Regions from separate parts of the Homo sapiens genome. Here regions 1, 2, 4 and 5 are each linked to region 3. Evidence: promoter capture Hi-C in 16 types of primary human blood cells and fetal thymus (Javierre and others, 2016). All regions are on one chromosome and are shown on one strand. The core of a region is centred on a gene start or on the middle of the fragment in contact, and the rest is flanking DNA. Distances in the headings are between cores, read along the strand shown.

Region 1 (5,846 bases), core at 1,869-4,368, 660 kb after region 3:
AATATTGCCTTTCAGCAATTACCCAAATTCAGTCTTTCTCTTTTTTTGGGGTGGCGGGAAGGGGACTGAGTTTTGCTCTCGTCGCCCAGGCTGGAGCACAGTGGTGCGATCTCAGCTCACTGCCACCTCTGCCTCCCAGGTTCAACAATTCTCCTGCCTCAGCCTCCTGTGTAGCTGAGATTATGGGTGCCCGCCACCACGCCTGGCTAATTTTTGTATTTTTAGTACAGATGGGGTTTCACCATATTGGCCAGATGGTCTCGAACTCCTGATGTACGGTGATCCACCTGCCTTGGCCTCCCAAAGTGCTAGAATTACAGGCGTGAGCCATTGCACCTGGCTCAACCTTTCTCACCACTCAGTCTCTTCATTATCTAGAACGTGCCTGTGCTACCTGCCGTAACAGAGTATGGCTGGAGGCTATTTCTCATTTTCTAGTTTATCATATCAATTTTTTTTTTTTGAGACAGAGTCTCACCCTGTCATCCAGGCTGGAGTCCAGTGTGCAATCTTGGCTCACTGCAACCTCCGCCTCCCAGGTTCAAGCGATTCTCAAGCCTCAGGCTCCTGATTAGCTGGGACTACGGGTGTGTGCCACCATGCCCAGCTAATATTTGTATTTTTTGTAGAGATGGGTTTTCACCATGTTGCCCAGTCTGATCTCGAGCCCCTGACAGTCTGATCTGCCCGCCTTGGCCTCCCAAAGTACTGGGATTACAGGTGCCAGCCACCGCACCCTGTCAGATTTTATTCTTTTAATGTGCAGTGTGTGCTCTTTGCTTGTCCCTTCTCCCCTTTGGTGAACACTTACTCAGATGCCACTAAATCTTTTCTGCAGGGTTGTTAAAAAAAAGCAACAAAAGATAAAAAATGAAATATGAAAGAAGAAAACAAACCGAAACCAACAAATGCTAGTAAGTCAAGGAAATAGTCTCTAATTTATCTAGAACAGAATTAGTAAAACTGCCATCAATGGAACTGGAGAAGTTTTAGTTATAGTAGTTTTATAAATGAGACTAATATAGGGTTTAATGTACAAAGACAGGACTGTATCTCCTTGAAAGTTAATCTCTTGGATTTGGAGTGGTACTACAAAAAGTAGAGACTAAGTGTTCAACCTATTTATTTATTTAGATACAGAGTCTCACTCTGTCGCCCAGGCTGGAGTGCAGAGGCGTTATCATGGCTCACTGCCACCTCCGCCTCCCGGGTTCAAGCAATTCTCCTGCCTCAGGTTCTGGAGTACCTGGGATTACCCGCACCCGGACCATGCCCGGCGAATCTTTTTTTTTTTTTTTTTTGTAGTTTTAGTAGAGATGGGGTTTCACCAGGTTGGCCAAGTGGGTTTCGAACTCCCGACCTCAGGTAATCCACCTGCCTCTGCCTCCCAAAGTGCTGGGATTACAGGCGTGAGCCTCCACGCCCCACCAGCCAATTTAATTTGTATGCATGATAGAATCCATCCCAATTCGAAGACCCAAAAATAACAGATTAGTACAAGTCTTTGAGGCTAATTACGTCATTAGTATTAATTTTAATCAATGGTGATTAAACTGAGCCTTCATTCAACTTGTCCAGAACATCAGTCAAGAATGTCTATTTAAAATGTTCTTGGAGGCCGGGCGCATTGGCTCACGCCTATAATCTGAGCACTTTGGGAGGCCAAGGCAGGTGGATCATCTGAGGTTAGGAGTTTGAGACCAGCCTGGCCAACATGGTGAAACCCCATCTCTATTAAAAATACAAAAATTAGCCAGGCATGGTGGTGGGTGCCTGTAGTCCCAGCTACTCAGGAGGCTGAGGAAGGAGAATTGCTTGAACCTGGGAGGCAGAGGTTGCAGTGAGCCAAGATTGAGCCACTGCACTCCTGCCTGGGCTACAAGAGTGAAACTCTGTCTCAAGCAAGCAAATAAATAAATAAATAAATAAATAAATAAAGTTATTGGGCAGGCACAGTGGCATTCGCCTGTAGTCTCAGCTACTTGGGAGGCTGAAGCAAGAGGACTGCTTGAAGCTGGGAGTTCGAGCCCAGCCAAAGCAACCTATCCAGACCCATCTCTTAAAAAAAATATTTCTCTGCCAGGTGCGGTGGTTCATGCCTGTAATCCCAGCACTTTGGGAGGCCAAGGTGGGCGGATCATTTGAAGTCAGGTGTTCGAGACCAGACTGGTCAACATGGAGGAACCCTGTCTCTACTAAAAATGCAAAAATTAGCCAGGCGTGGTGGTGCACGCCTGTAATCCCAGCTACTCGGGAGGCTGAGGCAGGAGAATTGCATGAACCGGCGAGACGGAGGTTGCAGTCAGCTGAGACTGCACCACTGCACTCCAGCCTGGGCGACAGAGCGAGGCTCCATCTCAAAAAAAAAAAAAAAAATATCATCTATCTATCCACCTACCTACCTACCTACCTACCTGGATTATAATTCATTAAGTTCTCTGTGCCCTGTAGTTGTAGATTAAGGGAATGCGATTGGATTAGTGTGGAGGGGCTTTTTATGGAGCCAAGCAGGAGTTTTTAAGCTTTTGTACTTTTGCTTCATGTCACAAGGACAGATGCCCCACAAAGGCTGAGATGTTTGTGGTCCTGGATCTTAGAACAGTGCCTGGCACATAATAGGCATAAGGTTGCCAGGAAATAGAAATACAGATACTCAATTCAATTTGATCTTCAGATAATCAAAAAATACTTTTTTTAGTATAAATATGTCCCATTCTGTATTTGGGACATACATATTACACTGTTGTTTATCTGAAATTCAAATTTAAGTGGGTGTCCTGTACTTTATCTGGCAACCCTACTAAAGGAGCTCAATTAAGTATTTGCTGACTTAACAGTCTGAAGGTCTCGTTTCACCTGTAAAATGGGGCTAGTACCTGTCCCTGCCTCTATAAGGTTGATGGGCAGAGTAGGTGGCATTCAGTGAGCCCTCAATTTATTTGATTGCCTGGGACCATCCGGTGAGCAGAAACCCTTCCACTTTCAACTACAGAGACGATAAAAAGGCCTCCTCGAGGCCAGAGGTGCCCAGGCCAGGCCTAGGTGGCCCGCACCTGCGAGCCTGGCCAGCCTCTTCCGGGTCAGGTGACCGCGCGCGGTCACGTGACCCGGCCCGAGTGCGGGCGGTGGAAGGCGGAAGTAGGAGAGGAGTTCGGCGCCGCTTCTGTGGCCACGGCAGGTAGCGAGCGCTGGCGCGGGGGGCGCGGTGGGCTGGCTGCCTGCACGGGGCGGGCCGGGGGCGGCGGGCGGCGCGGGGTGGGCCGGGGGCGGCGCGGCCCGGGCGTCGGGGGGCGGCGGCTTCCTGTGGGAGGGGCCTGGCGCGGCGGTTCCGGCCTCCGAGGAGGGGTGTCCCGGCTCCCGCCCGAGTGGGGTGGGCGCGCCGCGGCCCGCGCGGGGGTTGCTCCGAAATGGGTGCCCCGGCCGCCAAGGGTGCAGCTGGAGCGAGTCCTCCCGGAAGGGGAGAGGAGCTTAGGTTCCCAGGCATGGAGAGGAGCGATCTTTGTGGAGGGATCGGGACCAGGGGAAGGGGCGACTTGGAACTGAGCTGGAAGGGGGTGCCTGAAAATGGGTTTATGGCGTGGAGCCAGAGGGAAAAAGATGCTGCCTGGACCCCCTCTGAGAGTCTCTCCCTTCCTTCCTGTTTGGAAATGATTGTTACCCGAGACTTTGATGACGGTCCCATTCAGTTTTTAAACTTCAGGAGGGATCACAGAATCTTGATCGTCTTGCTTCCCTCGCGCCCACTTAGTCCTGCGTGGGTAGGGTTTCCACTTCTTGGGAGCCTAGCCCTTCAGCTCATTTTTCTTTGAGATTTTCCCTGAACGGGCCATCATCGAGGCTTTAAAAAACAAAAAAAGAAAATAAATTAAAAAAATAAGTGTGGGCACTTTGCCTGTAAAATGGCTTTTAGCTTACACTGTTGACCTAGCCCAGCGTTACCTCAGCAACATAGTGACTGCTGAAATCTTGGACAGAGAAGTGTCTACCTAGACTGCTTTATGACTTTTCTCTTTCTTCCGTTTAAATTATTCAGTTTCCCTTAGCTTATCTTGTGACTGCTTATCTTGACGAACTGTAACTAGGTAGGGTGCCTGAGAGGTCTGTGTTATGTTCCTTAGAACTGTGACCTGGATCATGATTTTGAGATTGAATACTTGTGTTAAAGCCTGTTCATCTTCCTGTTTCTCATGTTTACTAAAATTTGCAGAAGCAAAAGGAGTTTCATGAGTGCAGTGTAACTGGAACGAATGTTCAAACTGGACATTCACAGCAGCCAGCATCGTTTTGGGTTACAAGTAGGAAAAAGTACTTTCCTAATGTATTATGAGTTCAAGTTTTTGGAGTTATTTGACAAACATTTAAAAATTAGTTTTTGCAGCAGCGCCTATGAGTGAGGTTGGGAAGATGTATTCTCATTTCACAGGGAACAAACAGACTTACGAGAGACGACTTGATTTTTTAAAACAATTTATTGCTCTTTCTTGTTTGCTGGCCTCTTCCTGCTAGATTGCAAATCCTTCAAGGGCAGGTTTCATATTTTATTTGGCTGCTAGCCTAGTGCCTGGCATGTTGTGAGCACTTGATAAATATTTGGTGAATAAATGCATTTCTAAAAGTCACACCGGCGTAAGTGGTGACAAAGGATTTGAACCCAAGTCTTCTACTCTTTTTCTTGTCAGAGAAGCTTGTGATTATCTGTGTCATTGGTCCATATGAAAACAGGCTCGAGAGAAAGGCTTGGATTGGCTTCTCAGTCTCTTTCACTTCATGATTACTTTCCCATTTACAAAGAGCGTATACCAACATCTCACTTAACCTTCCCTTTGAAATTGGGATGGTCAGTATTGTCCCTATATCACATGAAGAGACTGAGGCTTAATGAAGTCCTTACTTTAGATTTCAGAGCTAGTAAATGAGTAGGGACTCAAGCCCAGACCCTTAATCCTTAGATCCATTCTTTTTCATTTATTGACACAATAGAAAATTTTATTTTTATTTTATTTTGAGACAGGATCTTACTCTGTTGCCCAGGCTGGAGTGCAGTGGCACAATCACGGCTCACTGTAACCTTGACCTGCCTGGGCTCGGGTGATCCTCCCATGTCTGCCTCCCAAACAGCTGGGACTACAGGTGGGTGCCACCTCGCCTGGCTAATTTTTGTAGAGACAGGGGTTTTGCTATGTTGCCCGGGCTGTTTTCAAACTCCGGGGCTCAAGCGATCCTCCCACCTCGGCCTCTCAAAGTGTTGCAATTACAGGTGTAAGTCACCATGCCCAACTGAAAGTTTTATTTTTACATAATTTTTCAGGAATAAAAAGTGTAACATTTTAAGGAAAAAGATCACACAGAAAAAGTTGTGAATGTAGAATGTGAGTAAATGAAGTTTAGAAAACGCTGTACTCTACCATAGCTTCCTCTTCCTGGGAAAACATTCTTTCATTCAGTGAATATTTATAAGTACCCACTCTGTCTTTGCCAGGCATTGTTGTAGAGTCCAGTATGGTGTACACTAGCCACATGGGGCTGCTGAGCACTGGAGCTATGCTGTGAGCATAAAATACATTCTGGATTTTGAAGACTTAGCATGAAGAAAAGTAAAATGTCTCATTGATACTTTTTATGTTATAGTAAACGATCATATAATGTATAAACATGTATGATAACATTTTGGATTTATTGGGTTAAATACAACGTAATTATAAATAGTTGGTCAGACATGGTGGCTCATGCCTATAATTCCAGCACTTTGGGAGGTCAAGGTGGATAGATTGCTTGAGCCCAGGAATTTGGGACCAGCCTGGGCAACATGGTGAAACCCTGTCTCTACAAAAAATACAAAAATTAGC
Region 2 (5,420 bases), core at 262-2,761, 620 kb before region 3:
TGGGTACTTCTTGAGGCCTAGGATGAATATGCCTCTCTCCAGAGAGGATTGATGGGTCCCTCTGCCAGGTGACAGGGGCATTAGCAGTCCAGGGGTACTTTATTTTTTTATTTTATTTTATTTTATGTTTTTTTTTTGAGACAGGGTCTTGCTCTGTTGCCCAGGCTGCAGTGCAGTGGCACAATCTCAGCTCACTGCAGCCTCTGCCTCCTGGGTTCAAACTATTCTTCTACCTCAGCCTCCTGAGTAGCTGGGATTACAGACACATGCCATCACGCCCGACTAATTTTTATATTTTTGGTAAAGACGGAGTTTCACCATGTTGGCCGGGCTGGTCTTGAACTTCTGGCCTCAAATGATCTGCCCACCTTGGCCTCCCAAAGTGTTGGGATTACAGGCATGAACCACCACACCCGGCCCCAAGGGTACTTTAAATTCATGAGCAGAGGTTTTATGAATCACGCAAATGACGTGAACTTGGGCCGCCAATCTAAGTGATGGCCAGCTTGTGGTTACATCTCAGTGACAACTCCTCCCCTCTTCTCTTGCATTCCCAAGGTAGGGAGACCTGTTAGGGTGCCAGCTTAAACTAGGAGAGCCTCCTGATAGATTCCCCACTGGGGACAGGCCCTGAGTTTTGACATTTATCACACTGGCCCACAAGATCATTAATACTGAGGTTCTTGGCTGGGCGCGGTGGCTCACGACTGTAATCCTGGCATTTTGGGAGGCCGAGGTGGGTGGATCACTTGAGGCCAGGAGTTCGAGACCAGCCTGAGCAATATGGTGAAACCCTGTCTCTACTAAAAATACAAAGCCGGGCATGGTGGCATGTGCCTGTAATCCCAGCTACTCAGGAGGCTGAGGCATGAGAATTGTTTGAACCTGGGAGGTCGAGGTTGCAGTGAACTGAGATCGTGCCACTGCACTCCAGCCTGAGCAACAGAGCAAGACTCCATATCAAACAACAACAACAACAACAAAAACCTGAGGTTCTCACTTGCATATCAGCAAACACCCACATAGCCAAAATGACTTCAGTGCTTCCTACTTGTCTAGGTTCTTACCTCTCCTTAGATTCTGACCTTATTCCTTTTTCTCTTGCCAGCTCTTCATTGCTTTTAACAAGGTGTTTTTCATGTTTTATCCAGCATTTTTGGTTGTTTTCAACAATTATATCCTGTAAAACAGAGCTTGGCAGATCTTGCTGTGTGACCTCAAATAGGTCACTTCCCCTCTCTGGACCTCAGCCTTGCCTACCTCATGGCATGGTTGGGAGGATTAAATGAGGAAATGAAGGTAAAGGGGCTAGCACAGTGCTCAGCACATAGGGCACTCAATGAACATGAGTTCTCTTCCCTCTTACTGCCTGGTGGGGCTGGGTCCTTGGGATAAAACAGAAACCTAGTCATCCAATCCGGCCTAAGGTCTGGGTTACAGCAGCAGCTGAGGTTCGAGTGCCAATGCCCAGAGTTCTTCATCCTTTTTCAACTTCTGAGGTACCAGCTAAATGTTTGCTCCTGGAGATGGGAGTCCTGTAGCTCAACCAAGCTGGGCCAGATGCCAATGGCAGGGGAGGCATATGATCACAGTACCAGTGCCGGGGAGCAGGAAGGGCCCCTGGGGGAGCCTAGACCCATGGCCTCTGCACCGCAGCATCCCTGGGAGTGCCGCCATTTGGCTTGTGAGGGTGGCTTAACTGCAAGTGGCTTGGGGTAGCCTGGCTTGTGAGCCAGGCCTCTAGGGAAAACCCTCCTGCTTGGATCTAGAAGCCAGTGGTATGTGTCCATCCTGGAGGGAACAGCTTCCCAGACCAGAAAGCTAGGGTGCTCCTCTGCACTGTGGGGAGCTAGAATAAGGGTCTCCTGGGAGCAGTGCAGGCTTTTCCCAGAGTCAGTTCTAACCTCTCCATCGCCTCCATTACAGTCCCCCACCTGGCCACCCACCACCTGGCCAGGGTCACCATAGCCCTCCCTGACACCAGAGGGTTTTGTTTGTTTGGTTGTTTGTTTTTGAGATGGAGTCTCGCTCTGTTGCCCAGGCTGAGGTGCAGTGGCACGATCTCGGCTTACTGCAACCTCTGCCTCCCCGGTTCAAGTGATTCTCCTCCTGCCTCAGCCTCCTGAGTAGCTGGGATTACAGGTGCAGGCCACCACGCCCAGCTAATTTTTGTATTTTAGTAGGGACGGGGTTCCACCATGTTGGCCAGGCTGGTCTCGAACTCCTAACCTCAAGTGATCCGCCCGCCTCGGCCTCCCAGAGTGTTGGGATTACAGGCATAAGCCACCACACCTGACCCATCAGAGGGTTTTAATGAGAGAATGTGGATGCCATTCTCTCCCCAGCAAAGGTTCCCAACACTCAGGGTCAGCTGGCACTGCAGCCTCCTGTCCCCTCAGCCTCATTTGGTATTGGTTAGGGAGCCTCCTGTCCTTCCCTGAGCTTACTGCAGTCATTTCTGTCCCCATGGCCCTTACATGACATCCCTGGAAGGTGAGGTCTGGCCAGGCAGGCTGGGCATGTCCACTCTAACAGTGTACATCGGAAGTTCCCAGTCCAGAGAAGTCCTTCTAGGTTTCAGAATCAGGTTGGGACGAGGAGCAGGTTGGAAAACACTGTATTGGCCACAGAGCAGCCCAGGTCTGGAAGAATGAAAAGTCCTCTGATCCTAAATCATTAGAGAATATATTATAGAATGAAGCCATTTTCCAATCAAATGCAGCACTTTGGCCATTTTACCTGTATACATGCATAGATGAATTTTTTTTTTTGAGACAGAGTTTTGCTCTTGTTGCCCAGGCTGGAGTGCAATGGCACGATCGCGGCTCACTGCAACCTCTGCCTCCCGGGTTCAAGTGATTCTTCTGCCCCAGCCTCCAAGTAGCTGGGATTGCAGGTGCTCGCCACCACGCCCAGCTAATTTGTGTGTGTGTGTGTGTGTGTGTGTGTGTGTGTGTGTGTGTATTTTTAGTAGAGATGGGGTTTCACCATGTTGGCCAGGCTGGTCTTGAACTCCTGACCTCAGGTGATCTGCCCTCCTTGGCCGCACAGATGAATTTTTAAACAAGCTCATCCAGATGGTGAAAAAAGGCACATGCCCTTGCCAGATGAAAAATGAGATTCAAATGTGGATTAAATATATCAATTAAGAAGTCCCAATCCCTGGCCTGCTGCAGTTATATCCTTCAGAGACAGCAACCATTCTGGGAAGCTTCAACTACATCCTAATTACCCAGTGGGAAATCAGTGTGTCTTCGGAGGAAAATATTTCTAAGGGCTTTTAGCATGAGCTGTCTCCTCCCTACAGAGGCAGAGGGAGGAGAATTAGGCCAGTGCCAGACTCAGAGGCACACATTCAGGTATCAAGAGGCAAACGTCACTGCATCTTTTTTAAATCTGGGAATTTCTCTGGAATTCTTTGAATTACCATAGCAAAGTTGGTATTTCTTTTAAGGCACTTCTTATCTTACATCATAAGATGTTTTCTGAGATTCATTCATGTTGTTTCTTTGCCCCGGACTGCCCCTCCTCCCTTTGTCAGCCAGGCAAAGCTTTGTTTATTATTCAAGAGACTGTTCAAATGGCGCCTCCCCACAAAGCCTGTCCTGACCCTTGGCACTCCCAACAGGAAGACCAGCTCACTGAATTCTGCTGAAGAGTCAGCTATGAATGAGAATCAGATAAAACAGGTGCTATTCTCACCTTCTTCCTGTACACCTGTTCTGGAACATTCTTCCAGCAGTGCATAAAGCACTCTGCATTGTGTCTGCCTCTTCGTGCCTCTATGGGGCTGTGAGCTCTTTGAGAGAAGTCCTGAGACCTCCACTCCTTACACTCACTCCACCCACTCTCCATGTCCCCAGGGACCCTTGCTGGGCTTGGCTCTGCAGGCTGTGGCAGTCAATGAGCCTCTGAGCAAGCCTCCCTCCGGTACGGTATTCATCTGCCCTCCACAAGGCATCTAGTACAGGGCTCTGCATGCAGCAGCTACCTTAAACACACTGAAATGCAAAAAGAAAACAGACTTTATTTTAGATCCTTTGCAATGGAGGATGCCGAGAGCCTTAGCAACTTTCCTAAGCTAAAATCTGTGGGCTTCAAAGTGAGTTTCTAGGACTTCACTTTGGGGTGCCACCTTGAGAAATTTTAAGGCAATGTGACATTAGGGGGCCCATCCCCCAAAAAGGTGCCAAGAGGTACCTTCTAGAAGAGGCTGAAATTTGAGGAGCCCTTTGGTGGGAAACAAGTTACTAACCCAGCTGGGAAGAGATCTGAGAACAACCAGCTCACGGCTGGCTCTGCTCAAGGATGAACAAGGCAAAGAGCCCCCGTGGGTGTCACCTGGGTTTTGAAAGAAGTGTTGCATAAATGATTGCCTGCCTGTGGCATCAGGAAATCATTTGACCATCAATCGACAGCACATCTACCTCCAGCCCAGGCCTATTCCCCTGGGACAGTGCCTCTGGCTCTTGGCTGCTCCTCCCCGCAAATACGCTGCTATGTGCAAAGACTTTTGGCCCTTGGTACACATGTGCCTCTAGCTACCAACATAGCAGCTTGCGGGGCATTATTTTGGGGCATTATTTCCTAGATTTGATCCCCAAAGACTGATTCCCCCTGGGCTTCCTATACTTGTCCTCTGCACTGTTCCCTGATTGATCTAGGCAGAGTAGGAGTTCTCACCCGCCTGTATGACCCAGCTCCCCCAAGAAAGACCAGCTCATCTAAGGCTGGAGCTGAACGGGAACGACAAGGCCATGGGGCTGGGTAGGGAAAGAGTCTCCCTTGCACAGTTATCAGGCCAGGGACCTGCTCAGGACCCCTGAACAGTGTCTCATGTGTGTAATGTCAGCACTTTGGGAGGCTGAGTGGGGATGATCAGGTCAGGAGTTCTAGACCAGCCTGGGCAACAAAACGAGACCCCATCTCTACAAAACTTCACAAAAGTAGGCGTGGTGGCACACGCCTACAGTCCCAGCTACTCAAGATGCTGAGGTGAGAGGATCGCTTGAGCTCAGGAGTTTGAGGCTGCAGTGAGCTATGATCACCCCACCGCACTGTAGCCTGGGCAACAGAACAAGATCCCGTCTCTAAAAACAAAAAAAAAAAAAACAGCTTTATTAAGATATAGTTGAAATATGTAAACAGCACATACTTAAAAAGTACAATCTGATGAATTTTAACATATGTATGCATACACCTGTGAAACTGCTACCACCGTCAAGATAATGAACACATCCATCAACTCTAGAAGTTTCCTCCTGTCCCTTTGTGATCTCTCCCTCCCATCTCCACCGTCTCCAGGCAACCACCCATCTGCTGCTCTCTGTTACTGTAGATGAGTTAGCATTTTCTGAATTTTAAATAAATGGAATTATCTACTATGTACTATTTTTGTTTGTTCTTTCATTCAGTGTAAT
Region 3 (5,873 bases), core at 1,276-3,775:
AGAGCACCTGGCCACATGAGGCCCTCCCTCCACAGGGAGATGAGCCTCTAAACGGAGCGTTTGCTCTCCACCAGGCTGATGCACTCATTTTTGCCCTTGCCAAGCCCCTGCTTATTTTCTCTGATGTTGCAGATTGCAAATCTGGGAAGGAGGAAGGATCAGAGATATCCTCATCTGCAGCAACTCCAGGGGTCTGTGATGCCTCTGGGTGTGCAGGAGGTAGCCCAGGGCTCCAGGGTTCATAATGCAAGAGAGACAAGACATTTTTCTTTCTTTCTTTCTTTTGAGATGGAGTTGCCCTCTTGTTGCCTAGGCTGGAATGCAGTGGCACGATCTCGGCTCACTGCAACCTCTGCTTCCTGGGTTCAAGTGATTCTCCTGCCTCAGCCTCCTGGGTAGCTGGGATTACAGGCGCCTGCCACCACACCTGGATAATTTTTTGTATTTTTAGTAGAGACAGGGTTTCACCATGTTGGCCAGGCTGGTCTCAAACTCCCGACCTCAGGTGATCCACCCGCCTCAGCCTCCCAAAGTGCTGGGATTACAGGTGTGAGCCACCACACCCGGCCAGGCAGTTTTCTTTTATTCAAACACTGATCCTTGAACTTGCTGTCACTGAGTGCTCTAGAGGGATGGCCATGTAGAACCCGTGGCATGGGCAAAGGATGCTGCTGTCTGGTTTACTAACACTTGCTGAGCGCTTACCCTCAGCCAATCTCTTCAAACTTCCTATCAGTCCGCCTAGCAATCCCATCTGTGGGATGAAGACACTGGGGCTTACTGGCAGACTCTAGAGCCCTCCCCTCCACCAACCTAAGGCTTCTTCTCCATCTTTGTGTAAGTAGGAATGGCTCTGGTAGGGCCCCTCAGGCCATCTGAAGTTCAAAACACATTGGCAGCTGGGCTGGATAGCATGCCTATAGGACTAGCTCCTAGGGAGGCTGAGGCGGAAGGGCTGCTGGAGTCCAGGAATTTGTTTTTGAGACAGCGTCTTGTTCTGTTACCCAGGCTGGAGTGTAGTGGTTCGATCATAGCTCACTGTTGCCTTGACCTCCTGGGCTCAAGCAATTCTCCTGCCTCAGCCTCCCTAGTAGCTGGGACTACAGGCACACTCCACCATGCCTGGCTAATGTTTTTTTTTTTTTTCTTTTCTTTTCTTTTTCTTTTTTTTTTTATTTTTATTTTTTGAGATGGAGTCTCACTCTGTCGCCCAGGCTGGAGTACAGTGGCATAATCTTGGCCCACTGCAACCTCTGTCTCCTGGGTTTAAGCGATTCTTCTGCCTCAACCTTCCCAGTGGCTGGGACTACAGGCACGTGCCACCATGCCTGGCTAATTTTTGTATTTTTTAGTAGAGATAGGGTTTCACCATATTAGCCAGGCTGGTCTCTAACTTCTGACCTCGTGATCCGCCCACCTCGGCCTCCCAGAGTGTTGGGATTACAGGCGTGAGCCTGCACCCGGCCCTGGCTAATTTTTTAATTTTAATTTTTGTAGAGACGGGGGAAGTCTCGCTTTGTTGCCCAGGCTGGTCTTGAACTCCTGGCCTCAAGCGATCCTCCATCTTCAGCCTCCCAAAGTGCTGGGACTACAGGTGTGAGCCACTGTGCCTGGCCAATAATGTAAGATGGGATTGTGTGGAGTAGGTGTGCCTGGGGTCTTTGCTTGCCTGCGGGGACTGAGGTGTGAGGTCTGTGGCCCAGACTGAGCAATGGTGGGCAGGCAAGTCCCTGAGCCCCTAAAACTTGCGAGAGGAGAAGTTTATAGACTGCAGCTCAGGTGCCTATAAATTTGTTGCAGCTTGGGAAGAAGTGATAGAAATTATATCAGGTGTATTTGGAAAACAGGTAAACTCTGTTTTTTGGTTTTTTTTTTTTTTTTTTTTTTTTTTTTTTTTGGAGACGGAGTCTCGCTCTGCTGCCCAAGCTGGAGTGCAGTGGTGCGATTTCAGCTCACTGCAACCTCCACCTGCGGGGTTCAAGCGATTCTCCTGCCTCAGCCTCCCGAGTAGCTGGGATTACGGGCATGGTGCCCGTAACGCCGAAAGTGCTGAGATTACAGGCTTGAGCCACGGCGCCCGGCCACTCATTTTTTAAAAACTAGTTATTAATTATAATTTCTCTTCAAGTTTTCCTGAGATGTAAAAACTCATCGCCTTCAGCTGGTTCTAAACTTCTTGTCTCTGCTAACAACTCTCCCCCCTCCTCGATCTCACCCCACCCCAGTGCACCCCAACTCACTTCATCTCACTTTACTCGAGTCTAGCACTATCTTTTAGGGACCTGAAAACTACTGTCGATAAGGTCAGTTGGGAATTTAGGAGGTCATGGATGTCGGAAATAAAGGTGTGAAAAAGAAGAGGAGGAATTGTTTTGGCTTTAAGACACCGGAACCTCCAAGGTTCCTACAAAACCGTTTGCAGCTTTTGCAAACCGCCTTAAAGTCATCAGCGCCCCACTGCGGAATTCAAAGCTAAGCTGTCACAATTGTTAACACCTTCTTTGACCAGCCTTTTTACATTTGACAATTCTCTTCAGCGCCTCTTTCCTGCCAGCAGGAAGGTTTTGCTGCCTTGGCTTTCGGGAGCCCCCTAGACAGCGAACTGCCCCTTCGCGTGCAGAAGTCGGGGAAGAGTGCTCTCAGCTCGCCTTCCTTGCAGGGTGAGTAGGTTTTGCGGGTTAGAGAGCGGGGCGTGGGGGCGGGGAGGGAGAGTAACAATTTTGGAAGTCCCTGCGTGGTATCTGGAAAGTTAACGACGCTTCAGGTTCTAGGTTGAGCCCAATGACCGTCTTGCCTTGGCAGCTGGTCCCAGGGCGATTGCAGAGCCGCGTGGCCTTCGGCCCCACTCGGGGGACCCAGCTTCGGAGAGGGCGCAGGGGCTGCGAGTCTTGCGAGCCGGAGCCGCGTCCACCCGGGACTAGGCGTCCCCGCCGAGCGCTGGCTTGTGGCGCTCCCTGGGACCGCGCGGGGTCGGGGGTGCGCCCGCGGGGGCCCTCCCACTCTGGTCAACTTTCCCGGCCCCAGGGCCGGGGGAGGCGCCTCTCCTGGCGGGCACGCGCCGGGTACTTAAGGGCGGCTCGGCTGGGCAGGCGGCAGTCGGAGCGCGCGGCGGCGCGGAGCGGAGCGGGAGGAGGGGCATGGAGCCGCCGCGGGCCTGCTGAGCTCCGGAGCGCGGCAGCCGGCGGCACGGTGAGCGCGGGCCGGCCGGCACCCAGGAGGGGAGGGCCGCGCGGGGCTGCGCCGAGGCCGGGGCGCGCCGGGTGGCAGGGGTGCCTCTCGCCGAGCCCCCCGCACCCGGCCAGCTCCCAGCCCTGCGGGCGCCGCGTCCGGCGCGGGGAGGCGGGTTGGGGGCGGCGGCAGCCCCGGGCTTCCCGGCGGCCGTTCCTGCAGCCCCCTCCCCACTGACCCCTCCTCCCTTTCTTCCTGCATCCTCTCCTCTTCCAGCCTCGCCTCCCTCCTCCCCGGCGGCTCCTGTTTTGTGAATGAATTAGGAGGCGGACGCCGGTGCGGGGCTCCAGGCTGGCTGGGGTACCCCTCCCCCGCACCTTCTACGACCTCCCGGGGGTTTGCACCTGTCCGGGCACCAAGGTACCAGGCGCCCACGTTCCTGCGGGTTAGCCGGGCCGCGGCAGCACGTGTCCGGGGGAGTGGGCTCCCCTCCCCTGGCCGGCCTGGAGGGGCCCGGAGGGCGGCCGGGCACAAGAGGAGGAGCCCCGTTGGGCGCACAAGTTTCCATGCCGCTGCGTGTGGCCCTGCCGCGGGGCGCACCTGTCAGCGGGAGAGACGCTGCACACCAGCAGCCCCTCAAAGTTTCGGAGGCTTGATGGAGAAGCGTGCGTCCTTGACTGGGGGTTCTCCTTCCGTAGTCCTGGGAGCCGGACTTGAGAGCGCCCCCAACCTTGTGCCCTTGAAAGCCGAGTGCGCGTTAGTTTGCCTGGGCTGGGCTCCCGTGGATGAGCGAAGGGCATGAGGAGGCGGCGGTCCAGGCTGTAGGATCACCCCACAGCCTCTGCCGGCTTGGGGTGACACAGCCCCCCGCCCCAGGTCTGGGCAGGAGAACCTCGACCACAGCCTGCACCAGCGCCTGATTGCACGTGGGGTATCTGGCTGAGGGACATTTTGGGGGCCTCTATTTGGGGGTGGGGGTAGTAACCTGGGTAATGCCTCTAATTCCTGCGGGGGAGGGGTCCCGCCCAGGGAAGGAGAGGGCCGGCTACACCGGGGATGCGCCTTTGTCTACAGGCACACTTTGCCAAGGTAGCTGGGGTACCAGGAAGAGCAGGGCCTGGTCCGACTGGGATCCCTTGGGTTTTCCGTTCCTTCCCGGTTGGGTCGTGGGAAAGCGGCACGTGGGTGTGGCCGGCGCCGCCTTTGCCAAGAGGCGAGGCTCGAGCGGGGATGAGAAGCGTGGCGAGTGCGTTCGCGGCTGCTTTGACCTGGTGGGCGCCGCCTCCGGCACTGCACCGAGGCGGGGCGCCAGCGCCCAGGTTGCTGGGCTGGCCTTGGCGCCCCCTTCCCCTACCCAGAGCGCAGGCAGGCAGGGGGGTCCCGCCGCGCCCCTTCAGCATGTAAGCTCCGGAGGGGAATGGGGGCGCTCCTAGGCTGCGGATGCAGGCCTGGGGACTCCTGGGCCGCAGGCGCGAGCAGTAGGGTGGCAACAGGGAGGGCTGGGAGTCCTGTGAAGGAAGCACACGGCGGGCTCCCCGGGACGGTGGGGCAGAGCGCCCGGAGGCCGCGCTTCCCGGAGAGGCTAGGCTGCCAGCAGCTCTTTTCGGGCCAACGCTGCTGGAAGGCTGCTAGTGCCGGAGTCTCAGGTCGATTTAGGCAGTGACTGCGTGTTCTTCGTCCCTTCTACGTGAGAGGCGTCCCGACAGGAAAGTGTGTTTGTTTTGGGGGCTCCGTTTCCTGAGACCTAAGAGTTGGAGCAAGCTTGGAAGCGAGGCATCATTGTCTGTAGACCTCAGTGAACATGGGGTTCTCTAGATCAGGCAGGTGGCAGAGAGGAGATAGTGTGGGTCAGAATGGGAAGGCCGGCAGCCATCCTTGCCACCTTTTCTTTCCCCTCCCTCACATCCCCCTCCCCACCTGCTCTGGAGGAAACCACAGTCACCCTCACCACTAGGGTAGCTCTTCGGGGCCGGAAGTGTTTCCATTTTTAGGGAAATGACTTACCTGAGACATGAGGCAGGAATCCATTAGAACTCCCATTGTGCTATGGGGAGACCAAGTCTCAGAGAACTGGGGCAAGGTCAGGCAGCCAGGAGGCAGAAGTGCTGTCTTAAACCCAATTCTCTAGTGCCAAGTCCTGGGCTGTTATAAAATACAGCTGTTTCCAACAGGGGAGATGTTAGGAGCCCTGACTTAGTTGCAAATGGAAACCGGGCATTGTTTCCAGGAGTGGCTGGGCAGGGGGACACGCACAGAGACGCATGCTGCACGGGCACTAGGACCAAGCGGATGGGATGCCCAGGCAGCCACTGTGGAGGCTGCTGCAGTGGTGGCTGCAGTTCCCTGTGCTTTCTTCAGCCCTGGGCTCTAGGAGGCTGTCCACTCCCCAGCTTGCATTTCCTGGTCTGCCTCTCCCCCTGCTTTCCCTTTCTTTCCTGCCTCTCAAGTAAAAGGTGAGAAAGTGGAGGACACAGGGAAAGTTTCTCTAATAACTGTCTTGAGAAAGGGAAGCTGCTGCTTTTTCCCAATGCCCCTTTGTTTGCTGTTTCTTTTGCTCCTGCACTTTCTTCTTGGGTCTTACTGGTGGCTGCACTTTACTGGTGAATATCCCCTCCAGGAGTGGGTGCAGGGTAGGGGGAAGCTCTTAGGCCACTGGCTGCCTCCCTGGCCCTCAGGTGCCCAGAGCTGCCTCAGGCTCACCCCCT
Region 4 (5,714 bases), core at 948-3,447, 560 kb before region 3:
ATTATATTGCTTTGTATGAATGTACCAAAATTTATTTAGCCATTTCTCAGAGAACATTTAGGTTGTTTCTGAAATTTTTACTATTATACATAATGCTGGGATAAAATTCCACTTGGTTGTAATACATAAGTTTTTCAAAATACAGTTGATCTCTCTTTTTTTTTTTTTTTTGAGACAGAGTTTTGCTCTTGTTGCCCAGGCTAGAGGGCAATCTCAGCTCACTGCAACCTCTGCCTCCTGGGTTCAAGCGATTCTCCTGCCTCAGTCTTCCAAGTAGCTGGGATTACAGGCGTGTACCACCATGTCTGGCTAGTTTTGATTTTTTAGTAGAGATGGAGTTTCACCATGTCGGTCAGGCTGGTCTCGAACTTCTGACCTCAAGTGATCCACCTGCCTCAGCCTCCCAAAGTGCTGGGATTACAGGTGTGAGCCACCGTGTCCGGCCCAGTTGATCATTTTTTAATATCTGTATTACTAAGGGAAATAGCCACCAGAGAGAAAGCACTCTCTTGGATGGGTTTTGGTGTCATGCTTATCCTTAATTTGTAGAAACATTCAGATTGCTTTTCACCTTTTTCTGTCTTTTGAAAGAATTTACCTATAAAACATTTAGACTCAGGATTTTTATAGACAAGATGTTTTGGCAACAATTTTCTCTATTTCCTCCTCAATTATAAAGGTTTCTGCTTTTTTGTGTAAACATTGGTAGTTTAGAATTTAAAAGTTTTTTGTTAAGATTTTTTGCATTTCTTAACACACTAGTGTGTATATTTCACTGTTCTGTTTATCCTCCTTTTTTTTTTTTTTTTTTTTTTTTTTTTTTATTGAGACGGAGTTTCGCTCTTATTGCCCAGGCTGGAGTGCAATGGCGCAATCTCGGCTCACCGCTACCTCCGCTTCCCAGGTTCAAGCAATTCTCCTGCCTCAGCCTCCTGAGTAGCTGGGATTACAGGCATGCACCTCCACACCCGGCTAATTTTGTATTTTTAGTAGAGATGGGGTTTCTCCATGTTGGTCAGGCTGGTCTCGAACTCCCGACCTCAGGTGATTCGCCCGCCTCGGCCTCCCAAAGTGCTGGGATTACAGGCATGAGCCACTGTGCCCAGCCTTATCCTCCTATCTTTAAGTTCATCTTTTAAAAATTTCTTCTTACTCGATTTATCAGAGGTTTTTCTATTTGGCTGGTGCTTAAGAGGAACCAGCCTTAGATTTGGCTGTTAATGCCATCGTTTTTCTGTTTGCCTCTGTTTTTTATAATCCAAGAATTTAATTCACTAACCCATGTGTTTTTTTTTAATCCTCGAAACAACTCCTCATTTTCCTGCATTGAGAATTACCCAGATTCTGTATCCATTCACTCAGCAGACGTGTTTGGAATGCTTGCTCTATGCCAGGCAGTGGTTCTTAACCAGGGTCATGCTTCAGAACCAGTCAGGAAGTGGTGCCTGCTTCCTCTGGGGTGGTGACAAGGCTTCAGTGAGGAAATGTGGTGAGAGTGCACGTAAATGACTGAGTTTAGTGTTTGCCTAGCAGCGAGTGTTCAAGAAATCTGAGCTGTTGCTCTTTGATAATGAACCACCTGAGGAGCTTTTAAAAGATGCTGGGCAAGACCCTCCATGCATGGACAATTTAGAAAAGCTGCCCAGGTGATTCTGGACACTCTCCACTTGCAGTGTCAGAGATACTGAAATGAAAAGGAGTTTAAGAAATTTTTGGCTGGGCGCGGTGGCTCATGCCTGTAATCCCAGCACTATGGGAGGCTGAGGCAGGTGGATCACGAGGTCAGGAGATCAAGACCATCCTGGCTAACATGGTGAAACCCCGTCTCTACTAAAAATACAAAAAAAATTAGCTGGGCGTGGTGGCGGGTGCCTGTACTCCTAGCTACTCGGGAGGCTGAGGCAGGAGAATGGCGTGAACCTGGGAAGCGGAGCTTGCAGTGAGCCGAGATCGTGCCACTGCACTCCAGCCTGGGCGACTGAGCAAGACTCCATCTCAAAAAAAAAAAAAAAAAAAAGTCTTGAGGGAGAAAAATGTAACTAGATGGCTACGGTTCTGAAATGGAGATGGGGACCAAATGCTGAAGGGGGATGGGGAGCACGGAGGATGTGGGGAAGCTTCAGGAGGGAATGGAACAGTGAACTGGTTCTACAAGGATGACTAGGAATTTTTCCTGTGGAACTGAGGGAAGAAAGTACATTATGGTCAGAATAGGATGTATAAAGGCAAAGAAACACAAAAGAAAATGTTGTTACTGGGCCAAAGAGTCCATGTGGCAGAAGCTTTGGGTATATGACAGGAGGCAGCATTTGAGAGAAAGATGGCCTGAGGTGGAGACCTAGAACAATGTAGAACGGTGGTGTGCCAAAGAAATACACATTCCATGTGTAATTTTAAGTTTTCTAGTGGCTACAATATAAAAAGAAACAGGTGAAATTAATTTTAGTAATAAATATTATTTAAAACAATATATCCAGAATATTATCATCTCTACATGTGATAAATGTTTTAAAATTACTAATGAGGCATTTTACATTCTTTCCTTGATAGTAAATCTTTGAAATTCGGTGTGTATTTTATTTTATTTTATTTATTTGAAACAGAGTCTCACTCTGTCGCCCAGGCTGGAGTGTAGTGGCGCAATCTTGGCTCACTGTAACCTCCGCCTCCTGGGTTCAAGCCATTCTCCTGCCTCAGCCTCCTGGGATTACAGGCATGTGCCACCACACCTAGGTAATTTTTGTATTTTTGTAGAGACTAGGTTTCTCCATGTTGGCCAGGCTGGTCTCAAACTCCTGACCTCAGGTGATCCACTCACCTCAGCCTCCCAAAGTGCTGGGATTATAGGTGTGAGCCACTGCGCCTGGCCCAGTGTGTATTTTGCTTAATCACACATGCCCATTTGGACTAGCTACATTGCAAGTGTGACTTTTAAGTTTGTCTGCTCTTTTTCTTTTCCTCCTAGCATTTAAAACCAGTTTGTAATTGGGTGAACATCTAAATCCTTAATTTAAAAACATAATGAATAGCCACATGTGGCCAGTGGCTGCCATATTAGACTGTGTGGCTGTAGATTGCCATTCCCTGGATTAATGCTGTCATTAGCAAGGGAGGATTTCAGCTGGATTTGAAGGATGAAGGCAAGGGACTGAATTCAGGAGACATTTCTGAGGCTTTTGGTGACTGCAAGGCATAAAGGAAAAATGAAGAGTCAAGGAGGAGGTCCAGGTTTCCAGTCTTCAATACTGCAGATGGTGATGCAGTAGGAATCTGTGTGTGTGCAAAGGTTGACAGTGATGTTCTTCTCTCTGTACACCATTGTTAGTTACACGGTCAACTATCGGCTTGTTAAACTATGATCAATCTGGTATCAGAGGCCACTTAGTGCTTAAGTGGAGATACCACACTGTATTGCCGTAAATGTGATGTTTTCTGATTGGGCAAACTGTATTTGTACATGTCCTTTCTGGAAGTGCCCTTTCACCCCATCTGCTCATAAAACTCTTTATTTCTGTAGTTCAGGGAACTCATGTTATTGATGAGGTAATTGGATCTCCAGGAGGTGTGAGATCTACTCAAGGATATTATGCATTTATTCATTATGGAGCTTTTTAGGAGCCCATGAAATTGAGTCTTCTCAACTTAGTATATGCTGTTCCTAGTTCCTTGCTTTGGGCTCAACCATTTGGCCAAGATCCTTGTATGTCAGCATAAGGAAAGGGAACATGTGATCCTTTTTTTTTTTTTTTTTTTTTTTGGAGACGGAATCTTGCTCTGTTGCCCAGGCTGGAGTGCAGTAGCACAGTCTTGGCTTACTGCAAACTTCGTCTCCTGGGTTCAAGCAATTCTCCCTGCCTCAGCCTCCCAAGTAGCTGGGATTACAGGTGCCCGCCACCACGTCCAGCTAATTGTATTTTTAGTAGAGACAGGGTTTTGCCAGGTTGGTCTCAAACTCCTGATCTCAGGTGATCCACCCGCCTTGGCCTCCCAAAGTGGTAGCATTACAGGCATGAGCCACTGCACCTGTCTGGAACATGTGATACTTCTTAATAACTTTGTTCGTTGCTTTTTGGTTTTTGTTTTTGTTTTTTTATTTAGGCAGAGTCTGGCTCTGTCACCCAGGCTGGAGTGCAGTGGCGTGATCTCGGCTCACTGCAAGCTCCGCCTCCCAGGTTCACACCATTCTCCTGCCTCAGCCTCCTCAGTATCTGGGACTACAGGCGCTCGCCACCGTGCCCGGTTAATTTTTTTTAAATTTTTATTAGAGAGGGAGTTTCACCGTGTTAGCCAGGATGGTCTCGATCTCCTGATCTCGTGATCCACCCGCCTTGGCCTCCCAAAGTGCTGGGATTACAGGCATGAGCCACTGCGTCTGGCTGCTTTGTTAGTTTTTAAAAGGGGTTGATGATGAAGTCCTGTTACATCTGGAAGAAGGATGAGCAGCTATCTGCAAGGTGTTACTGGATCATTTATTAGGGTTCAAGGTGTGACCTGTAGCATGAGATGCCCTGAAGTTGATCTGACTCAGAGTGACTAACTTCCACCAAGAGTGCATTTTACCTATTTACTCCGGCAAACTTTTGATTGTCTGTTATGTACCAAACTGGTTCTCGCCTCTGGAAATTTGAAGGTGCCTGAGCCAAGGTCTTGACCTTCTAGGAGCACAGTTTGGTAGGAGTGACCACTGGGTAACAGACACCTGAATGTAGTAGTGTCTTATGAGCTGTGCTAGAGAGAGGCCCAGGGAGGAGAGCTGCTGGGATGGGAGGGGGACACAGCCCAGACCTGGGGTACGAATGGGGCCCCAGAGGAGAGAACTTGACCAAGTCTTGGTGAAGAGTGAAGAGTGAGCCTTAGCCAAGCCGAGGAAGAAAGGCTGAGCGCTTGAAGTAACGCTTGCCGAGGTGAAAGAACGTTCTGGTTTCAAGGAGCTGTAACTCTTCTGCATGGCCAAATGTTAGTGTCTGAGGGGAGGAGAAGCCAGAGTGGGGGCTGTGGAGGTCCCCAGGGGACTAGGCCATGAAGGGCTCTGAAGCTCACACTGAGGAATCTAAGTTTTAATCTCAAGACAAATATTTATTAAATATTTGTGGATGAGGCATGGTGGCTAATACCTGTCATCCCAGCACTTTGAGAGGCTGACACAGGAGAACTGCTTGAGCCCATAAGTTCATAGACCAGCCTGGGCAACATAGAGAAACCCTATCTCTACAAAAGTAAAAAAAATAGGTATGGTGGCACACACCTGTGGTCCCAGCTGCTTAGGAGGTTGAAATGGGAAAATTGCCTAGGCCCGGTAGGTCAAGGCTGCAGTGATCTATGATTGCACCACTGCACTCCAGCCCGGGCAACAGAGCAAGACCTTGTCTCAAAAGAAAAATGTATTAAATATTTGTGGAGCACCTACTACATGTCAGGTCTGTTCTAGACAATGGAGATTCAACAGTAAAGAAAATAAATAGTATTCTTGCTCTCGGGGTTTACATTCTGCTTTGGGATATAGACCGTAAACATGATATGTCAGGTGGCAAAGGCTGTGAAAAAGACAGTGAGAATGTAGAATGGGGTGCTATTTTGTGTAGGATGGTGAGGGAAGGTTGCTCTGATAAGGTGACATTTGAACAAAGAGCTGAAGCCAGTGAGTGGGGAGCCACGGGCGTACATGCAGGAAGAGGCTTTCAAGTCAAGGGAAAAGGCGGAACACAGGCACCAGG
Region 5 (5,384 bases), core at 274-2,773, 600 kb before region 3:
AGCTCAGGGACTTCTCACCCTCTCCCAGCTTCAGGGACAGGCCTTGATAGACTGACATTCATCAGCATGTCCCAGCCACCTGGCCACAGTGGTTGGCTAAGGGATGGGCACCAGACCCAATTGGGACCAATAAGACCCACAGGACTTTTGATGGGCACCTGGGAAGATGCTTTCTTATTTATTTATTTAGAAACAGAGTCTTACTCTGTTGCCCAGGCTGGAGTGCACTGGCATGATCTCGGCTCACTGCAACCTCTGCCTCCCAGGTCCAAGCAATTCTCCTGCCTCAGCCTCCCAAGCAGCTGGGATTATAGGTGCCTGCCACCAAGTCCAGCTAATTTGTGTATGTTTAGTAGAGATGGGGTTTTGCCATGTTGGTCAGGCTGGTCTCAAACTCCTGACCTTAAGTGATACACCGGCCTCAGCCTCTCAAAATGCTGGGATTATAGGTGTAAGCCACCACACCCAGCAAGGGAAGATGCTTTCTTGATAATTTGTAGAAGCCACCTGGAGAAGGAACTGCTGGCTCTTCCAGGCAGTCAGAGCGTGAACCAGGGTTTGGCACATCTTTGAACCCTTTGCTGTGTTGGGCATGGCTGGCCTGGAGATGAAGCCCATAGCCCAAGGCAGGCAGGTGGAAAGAATTCCAGAGCAGCAGCGACAGTGCCCCGCCTGAACCTCAGCTGGGGCTTCAAGACTGTTTGGTTCCATGGGACAGCCCATTCTCTTTAGTTTGTGCTAGTTTGGGTCTACTGTTCTGAAAGCTACAACTGAGAAGATGCTAGCTGATCTCACTAAAGAGGAATTTCCTTTCAGGTCACAGAGTCAGGACTGAGGCAGCCTGGGCTTGGGAGAAGGAGGACCAGGCAGTTGGTTGGTGACACTCATTCAGGAACCAATAGCTTTGTGCCCCAGGGACTGTGGGAAGGAGGACCTCAATGCAGACAGGGGAGCCGCAGGTCTGGTGCAGGGAGGGATGATCATGCCCAGGGCCCTCACTCCCAGCCTCGGCTGGAGGCTCCCTTCATAGAATTCCACCTGCCTGGTAAATGCAGAATGCAGTCCACTTAAAGAAATCAGAGCAGCTGCCACGTCAAAGCCGAAAAGATGTGTGGAGGTGGGTGGAGAGGAGGCGGGTAATTATGCAGGAAAAATAGTTTTCTTGATATTCTTCTGGAAATATGCGTGGAACAGAGGGAGCAGCAGGAGAGATGCCAGGCAAGGAGAAAATGTATGAATAGCAGAATGCATGGTGCCTCTCCAAAGGCAGACAGAGGCAGCGCTGCTTTGACCACAGCATCCTTTTGTGGGGAGCATCTGGGACTCCATGAGACACTTCCGCAGGGACTCTTCAATGTAGGACTTTATTCATGGGTCCATTACAGAATTTGCTGGGAATGATTGAGCCTTTCTTCCCCCTGTAATCCCAGCACTTTGGGAGGCTGAGGTGGGAGGATTGCTTGAGGCCAGGAGTTCAAGACCAGCCTAGGCAACAAAGTAAGATCTCGTCTCTACGAAAAAAAAAATTTTTTTTTAATTAGTCCGAAAAAAAAATGGGAGAGGCGTGAGGGATAAAAGACTACACATTGGGTACAGTGTAGACTGCTTGGGTGATGGGTGCATCAAAATCTCAGAAATCACCGCTAAAGAACATATCCTTGTAACCAAACACTACCTGTTCCCCCAAAACCTATTGAAATTTTAAAAAATAATAACCAAGTGCGGTGGCATGCGTCTGTGGTCCCAGCTACTCGGGAGGCTGAGGTGGGAGGACTGCTTGAGCCCAGGAGTTCGAGGCTACCGTGAGCAATGATTGTACCACTGCACTCCAGCCTGTACCACAGAGCAGGACTCTTGAGAGAGAGAGAGAGAGCACGCTGGCATGGGATCTCCCCATGCCACTTCTATGCCCCGTTAGGAATCTGCCCACAGAACCCATGTACTCTGCATGCCCAAGTGGCAGAGAGGCACCCCAAACTCTGAGAAGCAGCTCTGAGGTTGTGAACATTGAATGTAGATAATTATCCAGCTGTGAAGAAGCTGAACATTTCTTCGGGCTGTTTCTGCGTAATTATAAATATTTGAGAATATTAAACTCCCAGGTTACACATTGAGGGTATTGTCTGAGTAGCAGTTGGCTGCAGAGCTGGAAATGCAAACATATTTTCATTCCTCCCTCCTGGTGTACTCAGGATATTTCATGGGATTCAAAAGAAAAAGTTACAGTCGAGAAAAAAAAGCACCGACAACCTGGAGGCAAAGTCAGTTGCTAATATTTCTAAATAGCTTTAAATCAAAGAAGAGGAATGTGACCACTTTAGTTAACTGTGCTGGGTTTGTGATGCGTTTTTCTCTATGGTTTAGGAAAGCAATTACCATGAAACAACCTACCTGTGCCTTCGTGTGATAAAATGTTCCCTCTAATAGGGCCAATATGCCCAGCAGTAGGTCTTTACAAGCACTCAATGTTTCTAGAAGCATTTTCACATGTGGGGCTCCTTGGTGTGCAGTGAGAGCCCATGACTCACTCCTTAAGGACCCGTCATAGTGCAGGGTTGTTGGTTTTGTTTTTTGTTTTTTGTTTTTGAGATGGAGTTTCGCTCTTGTCGACCAGGCTAGAGTGCAATGGCACGATCTTGGCTCACTGCAACCTCCACCTCCCAGGTTCCAGGTTCAAGTGATTCTCCAGCCTCAGCCTCCCGTGTAGCTGGGATTACAGGCGCCCAGAATGCCCGGCTAATTTTTGCATTTTTAGTAGAGATGGGGTTTTGCCGTGTTAGCCAGGCTGGTCTCCAACTCCTGACCTCAGGTGATCCGCCCACCTCGGCCTCCCAAAGTGCTGGGATTACAGGCATGATCCACTGTGCCACAGGGTTCTTAATAGGAGATGGGTTCTTCCAAGGAGAGGCTGGTGTCCAGGCTGTGAGTGGAGGCTCTGCTGCCCTGGTTCTGCCCGGAGGCCCATGTGATGAGCCCAGGGTCCTGTCCAGACTTCCACCCTCACACTCTTGGTCACCCCATCTTGTCCTCCCACCCACTGAAGTCTCCTGTCTTCTCACCCACTCCCCAAGTGCTGTCCTCCACGCCCTGGAAAGCAGGGGCCATCTGTTACAGACACATCCTCAGCCTTCCATCTCCTGCTTTGCAGCTGTCCCCTGCTGGCCACAGCTTCCCCACATCTCCTGGGAGTTGCTGTCCCTTCTCCAGACCCCCCAGTATCCCTGGAAACCACTGCTCCTGTGCCTTTGAACAATCCCACCCCCTTCACACCCCCCGTCCCCACCGCCCCAGTTTTTGAGGCTCCTGCTTGCTGTTCTCCCTTCCCAGCCCTTGCTCTGGGGCTTGGCTCACTTTTTCTCTCCCCAGTTTTTCCCAGGCTGGAGTGCAATGGGCGATCTTGGCTCACTGCAACCTCAGCCTCCCAGGCTCAAAACATCCTCCCGCCTCAGCTTCTCAAGTAGCTGGGCCCACAGGTGCACACCACTGCGCCCGGCTCATTTTTGCATTTTTTGTAGAGACAGAGTCTCACTATGTTGCCCAGGCTGGTTTTGAACTCCTGGGCTCAAGCCATCTGCCAGCCTTGGCCTCCCAAAGGGTTGGGATTACAGGCTGGAGCCACCACGCCCAGTCTGTTTTTTTTTTCTTCTTCTTCTTCTTCTTTTTTTTTTTTTTAGAGACAGAGTCTCACTCTGTGACTCAGGCTGGAGTACAGTGGCATGATCATGGCTCACTGCAGGCTTGAACTCCTGGCCTCCCACCTCGGCCCCCCAAAGCACTGGGATTACAGGCAGGCGCCCAGCCCTTTTCTCAGCTCAGGGACCTCCCTTCATCTTGGGTAACTGTGATGGGTAAGAACGACCTATGTCATCGTCCAGATCACAAACTTCCTTGGTCCCTCTCCGGGTGCTGCCAGGTCCAGCCCTGTACAGTCTTGGCCTTTAGGGTGGCACCTCTGCCATACCTAGCGCCCTGTGTCTCCCTCACCCTTGGCCACCACAGAGGCCACTGGTCTGCAGCCCCAGGGATTTCTTTGTCCCTTCATTTCTGGCTGCATTCTGTGGCCATCCCATTGCCTCCCTCTCAGGCCCCTGAATCCCATGGTCTCCATCCGTCGCCCATGATGCTGCCGTCTAAGGCCTCTGCCTGATGGGGAGCTGTTGCTTGGTGACCCCACCAACCGATCCCAGTGGGAACCCCCGCCCCACAGCCTCTGGCTCCTCAACTCCCACCCCTAGCCTCCATCTCCAGTTTCTAGGTCACAGTGAGACGCCAGTGTAGGCCAGTAAATGTGCAAAACCAGAACTTCATTTCCCACCCCAAATGCTGTCCCTCTCCCCCAGATGCCGGCAGCTGGCAGGGGGCGTCCTCCGAGAGCCTCCGGAGAACAGCCCGCTTGGCTCTGCAAGTTTGCTGTGGGCGGTGAAAGTATCCGCTGACAAACCATCCAACGTCGGTTTGGAAGCCCAAGGTCCCATAAAAAGTGGGACGAAAAAAGACCCGTTGCGAAGGCTGCGCTACGCGTCCAGCCGCCCGCGCTCCAGCTCACTGTCCTTGGGTAAGGGAGAGGGAGGAGGCTCGTGGACCAAGAGGACGCACTCGGATCTGGAGTTCTCCGGCCCGGACACCCACGGGCCACCGCGTCGAGGCAGCGCGAGCCCCGGGCGCCCCCTGCAGGTTGTACGGGCCTCAGCTGCGCAGCGCAGACGGAGGAGGGCGCTGGCGGTTAAGAACTCCTACTTGTCAACCGGAAAAACATCCCCCATAAAAAAACGGTCAAAGGGCCGGGACAGAAGCATTTGAAATGAAACACAAGGGCCGGGCGCGGTGGCTCACGCTTGTAATCCCAGCACTATGGGAAGCTGAGGTGGGCAGATCACAAGGTCAGGAGTTTGAGACCAGCCTGGCCAACATGGTGAAACCCCGTCTCTACTAAAAATACACAAATTAGCTGGATGTGGTGGCGGGCGCCTGTAATCCCAGCTACTCAGGAGGCTGAGGCAGGAGAATCACTTGAACCCAGGAGGCGGAGGTTGAGGTTGCAGTGAGCTAAGATCAGGCCATTGCACTCCAGCCTGGGTGACAATAGCAAAACTCTGTCTCAAGAAAAAATAAAAATAAAAATAAAAATAAAAGAAAGAAAAGAAAAGAAAAAGAAGAGAAAAGAAACACAAATGTCCAATAAACCATCAAGCTGATATTGACATGGGCAGAATCTGTTGCAAGCCGTGGCACAGGACAGACAGATCCTTTAATCTCACAAACAATGACACTAGGGAGAGGCAGATTGTTCCCATTCTACAGATGCGTAAACTGAGGCACTGAGAGGCTAAGTGACTAGGTCACGGCCACACAGTAAGTAGCAGGGCCAGAAACTCACCCAACAG

Evidence for each region. Contacts are between HindIII fragments. The CHiCAGO score rates a contact against its expected background, and 5 or more counts as called.
Region 1: the fragment with the promoter of WWP2 here is called in contact with the fragment with the promoter of HAS3 in region 3 in 2 of 17 cell types (neutrophils and total B cells); the score reaches 7.7 in neutrophils.
Region 2: a fragment that was not itself captured here is called in contact with the fragment with the promoter of HAS3 in region 3 in 1 of 17 cell types (erythroblasts); the score reaches 7.4 in erythroblasts.
Region 4: a contact is called between a fragment that was not itself captured here and the fragment with the promoter of HAS3 in region 3, in 3 of 17 cell types (total B cells, naive B cells and activated CD4 T cells). The highest score is 8.2, in total B cells.
Region 5: a fragment that was not itself captured here is called in contact with the fragment with the promoter of HAS3 in region 3 in 3 of 17 cell types (megakaryocytes, naive CD4 T cells and erythroblasts); the score reaches 7.0 in megakaryocytes.

Annotation. Positions count from the first base shown.
Region 1 is chr16:69,759,214-69,765,059 of GRCh38, forward strand. It overlaps WWP2 (WW domain containing E3 ubiquitin protein ligase 2), which reads left to right and starts at 3,119. Exons shown (of 24, transcript NM_001270454.2): 1 at 3,119-3,178. RefSeq lists an enhancer at 2,924-3,502 and silencers at 3,206-3,345, 3,366-3,525, 3,546-3,595. The HindIII fragment of the contact is 2,162 bases long and covers 2,521-4,682 here.
Region 2 is chr16:68,483,437-68,488,856 of GRCh38, forward strand. No RefSeq gene overlaps it. Among named protein-coding and RNA genes, the nearest start is that of SMPD3, 38 kb to the left of the region's middle. The HindIII fragment of the contact is 3,395 bases long and covers 1-3,209 here.
Region 3 is chr16:69,103,128-69,109,000 of GRCh38, forward strand. HAS3 (hyaluronan synthase 3) reads left to right here and starts at 2,526. Exons shown (of 4, transcript NM_001199280.2): 1 at 2,526-2,660. RefSeq lists an enhancer at 2,191-2,739 and a silencer at 2,873-3,152. The HindIII fragment of the contact is 7,234 bases long and covers 1-4,927 here.
Region 4 is chr16:68,547,682-68,553,395 of GRCh38, forward strand. All of the region lies in intron 2 of ZFP90 (ZFP90 zinc finger protein), which reads left to right. Among named protein-coding and RNA genes, the nearest start is that of ZFP90, 11 kb to the left of the region's middle. The HindIII fragment of the contact is 165 bases long and covers 2,116-2,280 here.
Region 5 is chr16:68,505,679-68,511,062 of GRCh38, forward strand. No RefSeq gene overlaps it. Among named protein-coding and RNA genes, the nearest start is that of ZFP90, 31 kb to the right of the region's middle. RefSeq lists an enhancer at 2,347-2,847. The HindIII fragment of the contact is 8,227 bases long and covers 1-5,384 here.